Regions from separate parts of the Homo sapiens genome. Here region 2 is linked to region 1. The links are contacts of gene promoters, found by promoter capture Hi-C in blood cells and fetal thymus (Javierre and others, 2016). All regions are on one chromosome and are shown on one strand. The core of a region is centred on a gene start or on the middle of the fragment in contact, and the rest is flanking DNA. Distances in the headings are between cores, read along the strand shown. Region 1 holds the start of RNASE11 (ribonuclease A family member 11 (inactive)). Region 2 holds the start of SNORD126 (small nucleolar RNA, C/D box 126).

Region 1 (2,700 bases), core at 125-2,624:
GGCTGAGGCAAGAGAATGGCGTGAACCCAGGAGGCGGAGTTGCAGTGAGCCGAGATCGCGCCACTGCACTCCAGCCGGGGCGGCAGAGTGAGACTCCGTCTCAAAAAAAAAAAAAAAGAAATCTTGGATGCTCAAAATATCTATCACAAAATTTTGAAGATCCAATCTGACAAGGCTAGGATCAGGGTAAGATGAGTTATGTGAGAAACGTAGTGCAGGGCCAGATCCTGGTATTTAAAATTTTAACATTTGTTCATCAGGGATTATTTTGCATTAAATTTATTTTCTGGCCAGGCGTGGTGGCTCATGCCTGTAATCCCAGCACTTTGGGAGGCTGAGGCAGGTGGAACACTTGAGGTCAGGAGTTTGAGATCAGCCTGGCCAACATGGTGAAACCTCCTCTCCACTAAAAATACAAAAGTTAGTTGGGTGTGGTGGTGCACGCCTGTAATCCCAGCTGCTTGGGAAGCTGACACAGGAGGAGCGCTTGAACCTGGGAGGTGGAGGTTGCAGTGAGCCGAGATCATGCCATTGCACTCCAGCCTGGGCAACAGAGCAAGACTCTGTCTCAAAAATAAATAAATAAATATTTTCTAAAATTGTTGCATTAAAATATTATTTATCTTGATTATTGAGTTTTGTGGCACTCTCTTAAATTTTGGTCTTAGAGTGAGTGTCTCATTAACCTCAGCCTAATCCTAGCTCTGCTTCTAGCTGTAGAAGCAACAGAGGTCACCTCTTAGGGTCTTTTTTAAAGATAGCATATACAACTCAGGCAGCATCTGTTCCTGTTCAGCAGCTCCCTTTGTGTCTTGAAATAAAGAAAGGAGCCTGACTGGTCTGAAACCATTTCCCTTAAAGACTTTAGAGAGACACAGATAAGGATTTCCCAGGGAGGGATTGAGACTTTCAGAGCTCAGTGACCTCCTCTTTGTGTCTCCAGAAGGAACAGAGAGGACTTTGAGCCGGACTACTAACTCTTTTCTCTTTTTAGTTCTTACAATTGGACTTACTGCTTAGTTTCCCCACATTCAGCTATGGGCATAGTATCCTTACAGCTAGAAGGAGAAGGACGAGAAAGAGAGATTTCTAATTCTGGGGATTTCATGAAGTCCTCTTCTTCTCTATTCATTAGTTTCCTTGTCTGTAAAGTGAGGATCTTGAATTAGATAATCTTTCAAGTTCTTTCCAAGTCTATTAGTCTATAATTCTATTTCTTAAGTAGTACAGAAAATGGCTATATTATAGCCATTGTTGGAGGGGAGAATTTGTATTGTGAGGTAGTAAGAAATAAGGGGCAATTGGCAAATAAAGGCCAGATTATGTTGTCACTAATTCTGAGCTATGGCATTTCAATCCTGTATGTGAGAGCTAGAGACTCATACAGTGACCTAGAGCAGGCATGGGTGGGTCACAGGCTTTGGAGAGCACTCTCTGTCCTGATCTTTTCAGTTGAGAGACTTCAGCTGTTCATTGCTCATTTGGACTTAGTTCAAGGTCATGTCAAAGAAGAAGGTGCACTTACGCTAGTTGTTAGCTCTGTCTTTTGTAACCATCAAGTTCCATGCGATTGATCAGATTTAGGAGGGGGCGTTGGGGGATAATCGTAAGTGAAGGACAGTTTGCAACCTTGTGAGTAGGCAACGCTTACTCATCTCATGGCTTCTTCCATCTTAGGTGGCCGTTTTTCAGCTGAGTTTCATTTTCTAGTTCTCTGTGGTAATTCTGTTGTCATTGTTGTCTCCATAGAATTTTGGGTGTCACCAGGTAAACAGAGCCCTCAGCATCTGAATAGAAACTGAACAGGAACAGGTAGGTGGTCCCTAGCACATGATTTGTTGGGCCTTGGTAGCATCATTTTTTGGGCAAAACTTTGAAGTGGATGAAATGCATCCTTTAGGTTCCTACATCTATTTTCTGAATTCTGATTCCTTTTTCTATCCCTCTCCCTAGGTTTTGTTGTCTTTTCTTTCCTTTTCAGTGCTTTTTCTCCCCTTCTTCACCGAAGCTCCTCCTTTCTAATTAAAAATATCTTGCAGATAAAAGTATAACTGAGATGAACCAATAGGATGTATCCTCAGAGTAATTTCATTCAATAGGGATCAACACCAAATTCAAATGAATTGTGACATTTTAGACATTCGTAGTTTGGGTGTGTGTGTATCTATATCTATCTATCTGTATCTAAATATGTATATACATATATATTATACAGATATATAGGATCAGAGTCTCATTCTGTTGCCCAGGATGGAGTGCAGTTGTGTGATCACAGCTCACTGCAGTCTCAGACTTTTGGGCTCAAGAAATCCTCTCCTCTCAGCCTCCCGAGTGGCTGGGACTATAGGCATATGCCACCACAACTGGCTTTTTGTTGTTGTTGTTGTTGTAGAGATGGATTCTCACTATGTTGCCTAGGCTGGTCTTGAACTTCTGGCCTCAAGTGATCCTCCCGCATTGGCCTCCCAAAGCAATGAGACCACAGGCATGAGTGACTGTGCCCAGCCAGGTATATTTTTTTAAAGGGCACCTCTTAGCAGTTTCAAATAAAACCTAGGCAGCTGTGAATGCTGCCCACTTGAAATATATGTCTCAGAAAGACTGGAAATTTCTGCCCTGCTCTTCTTCCTGTTTATCTTTCTCCTCCTGGTCTTTCTGTTTCCCTATTGTCACCTCACTACTGATGTCAATGGTATAGGA
Region 2 (2,700 bases), core at 151-2,650, 260 kb after region 1:
CTGGAGTACAGTGGCACGATCACAGCTCACTGTAACCTTGAACTCCTGATCCTGCCCTATTTGATATTGAGCTTGGGCATTTGGTGACATTCTCCAAATAGATGAGTCAATAATTTATATTAATGAATGGAGAGTTAAATAAAGGATGAACGGTTACTCTAAATTTTCTTGTGACTTGGTATAGAACATGCTGGTGTGAGTTGTCATGTAATCATAACCTTTGTGAATTTATTTATGTTTTTTAAATTTTCCAGAAATGATCCTAGATAATTGATAGATCCTGTGGTTCAACTGGATTTCTAGATAGAAGCTGGATTCATGTGATGCCAGAGGTAAGAGTAAGAGCAAAATCTTCGTTTTTACCTCATTTGGATTTCTAATCACTTAGCAAGACTTGGGACTCGGTGTTATTAGTGGATGGAATTTGGTAATTAAAAAAAATCCCCAGTTCTAACCTTAGGAGAATTTTCCTGTTTAGGGATGAGGAGCCAGTGCTGGTTTGCCCTTCCTCAGTCATTTACAGTTTGCCATGATGAAATGCATGTTAAGTCCGTGTTTCAGCTGATCAGCCTGATTAAACACATGCTCTGAGCAGACTAAAGCTAGGGGCAAACACCTGCAATTGAATTCTGCTTGTTGGAATTCATACTGGGATTTAGTCTGTAATCCCAGGTAATTCTTAAATCTTAATAAATTATGAATTTGAGACTAATGTTTTGTTGTGCTTTGATCTTTTGTGATATCTCTATATCCCCAAAAAATCACTTTTGTGAGTTAGAACTAGGGTCAGGAATCATTAATCTAAAAGTTCAAACACTACAGAAAAAGCACTGGCAACTGGTATAATTCTATAGGCAATTTAGCCTGGCAGTTTTAAACTAATCATTATTTTATCAATCTATACATGTAGATTAAAGGAAACACAGAGTTGGTTAAATCAATTTTGTGAAGACTATACGGTACAACACTATAGAATCACTTAAAAGTTATGATACAGTTTTATGTTTATTGAAATAGAACGGTATTCATGACACATGAAAAACAGATTATATAGAGCAATATGTTTCTGCTTAAATATTTTTATATGCATATGTTTGCTTAAGAAAACTGAAAGGACATATATACTAAAATACTAGGGGGTTATTTTCTCTAGAATTGGGTTCTACAAGTAATCTTTTATTATTATAAACCTATTTTCTAATTTTATTGTATTCATGTATTGTAATATTTTAAAAGTTATTTTAGGTAACTTAGGACAAGCTTATATTCTTTACCCGTGCCTGCATTTTCAGCAGAGAATTAGGTAGAAAGAAGGGTGAAATACAGGAAATACAAACAACTCAAAGTAACATCAGGACTTGAAATAATTTTTTAGCTTTTGTTGTCTTTTGCAGGAGTAAAATTTCAAGAGACTGAAACCAGATCTGAGTTTCGCTGTTCCAGTCTGGACCTCTTTGGTGCTGTAAATCCTGGATATACTGTAGATGAGTACTGCGTTTTTCTTTTATGGTAAGGCTTACGTTGAGATTGAGAAGCTTTGCCATATATATGAGTCTTTGAAAATTCAGGTTTGTGACTTCATGGCCAGCTGCTAAGGTGCTATAAATTTCACTTTTTTTTTTTTTTTGAGACGGAGTCTTGCTCTGTCGCCCAGGCTGGAGTGCAGTGGCGGGATCTCGGCTCACTGCAAGCTCCGCCTCCCGGGTTCACGCCATTCTCCTGCCTCAGCCTCCCAAGTAGCTGGGACTACAGTTGCCCGCCACTACGCCCGGCTAATTTTTTGTATTTTTAGTAGAGACGGGGTTTCACCGTTTTAGCCGGGATGGTCTCGATCTCCTGACCTCGTGATCCGCCCGCCTCGGCCTCCCAAAGTGCTGGGATTACAGGCGTGAGCCACCGCGCCCGGCTAAATTTCACTTTTTAAAAGTCAGTTGAGGCCAGGCGTGGTGGCTCACACCTGTAATCCTAGCACTTTGGGAGGCCGAGGTGGGTGGATTGTCTGAGCTCAGGAGTTTGAGACCAGACTGGCCAACATGGCAAAACCCCATCTCTACTAAAAAAATACAAAAAATTATCTGGGCCTGGTGGTGTGCGCCTGTAGTCCCAGCTACTCAGGAGGCTGAGGCTTGAACCCAGGAGGTGGAAGTTTTAGTAAGCAGAGAGAGCGCAACTATACTCCAGCCTGGGTGATAGGGAGATTCCGTCTCCAAAAAAAAGAGTCAATTAAAGATGTTGAGAAGTAGCATTGTATAGTATATATATGGGTTCTGGAGTCAGACTGAGTTCAAACGCATGCTCTATCACTTCACCAGTTATGCAGCATTGGCAAGTTTCCTAATATCTATGTCTTAGTTTTATATTTTAGAGGATGGCAATAGTATTTGACTCAGGGTGGTTATTTTGAAGATTAAATTAGTAAGGGTGTGGGTAAAGCATACGGTAAATGCTCAGTTTGATGTTAACTATTTGTCATCAGAATCCATGCGTATATTTCTCTTAGATTCTGTACTACCTGGCAATTTTTGACATCTGCATAATAGATTGACGAAAATTCTTTGTTTTGGCCTGACGTGGTGGCTCATGCCTGTAAACCCAGCACTTTGGGAGGCGAGGTGGGCAGATCACCTAAGGTCAGGAGTTCAAGACCAGCCTGGCTAACATGGTGAAACCTCGTTTCTACCAAAAATACAAAAATTAGCT

Evidence for each region. The method cuts DNA at HindIII sites, captures the fragments that hold promoters and counts their contacts. A CHiCAGO score of 5 or more calls a contact.
Region 2: a contact is called between a fragment that was not itself captured here and the fragment with the promoter of RNASE11 in region 1, in 15 of 17 cell types (neutrophils, M2 macrophages, naive B cells and 12 more). The highest score is 7.8, in neutrophils.

What each region holds. Positions count from the first base shown.
Region 1 is chr14:20,586,675-20,589,374 of GRCh38, reverse strand. RNASE11 (ribonuclease A family member 11 (inactive)) reads left to right here and starts at 1,374. Exons shown (of 3, transcript NM_001394190.1): 1 at 1,374-1,515; 2 at 1,750-1,812. It overlaps RNASE11-AS1 (RNASE11 and RNASE12 antisense RNA 1), which reads right to left and starts at 1,151. Exons shown (of 5, transcript NR_122043.1): 1 at 1,057-1,151. The HindIII fragment of the contact is 10,143 bases long and covers 1-2,700 here.
Region 2 is chr14:20,324,348-20,327,047 of GRCh38, reverse strand. It overlaps CCNB1IP1 (cyclin B1 interacting protein 1), which reads left to right. Exons shown (of 7, transcript NM_021178.5): 3 at 255-332; 4 at 1,395-1,509. SNORD126 (small nucleolar RNA, C/D box 126) reads left to right here and starts at 509; the gene lies at 509-607. The HindIII fragment of the contact is 275 bases long and covers 1,263-1,537 here.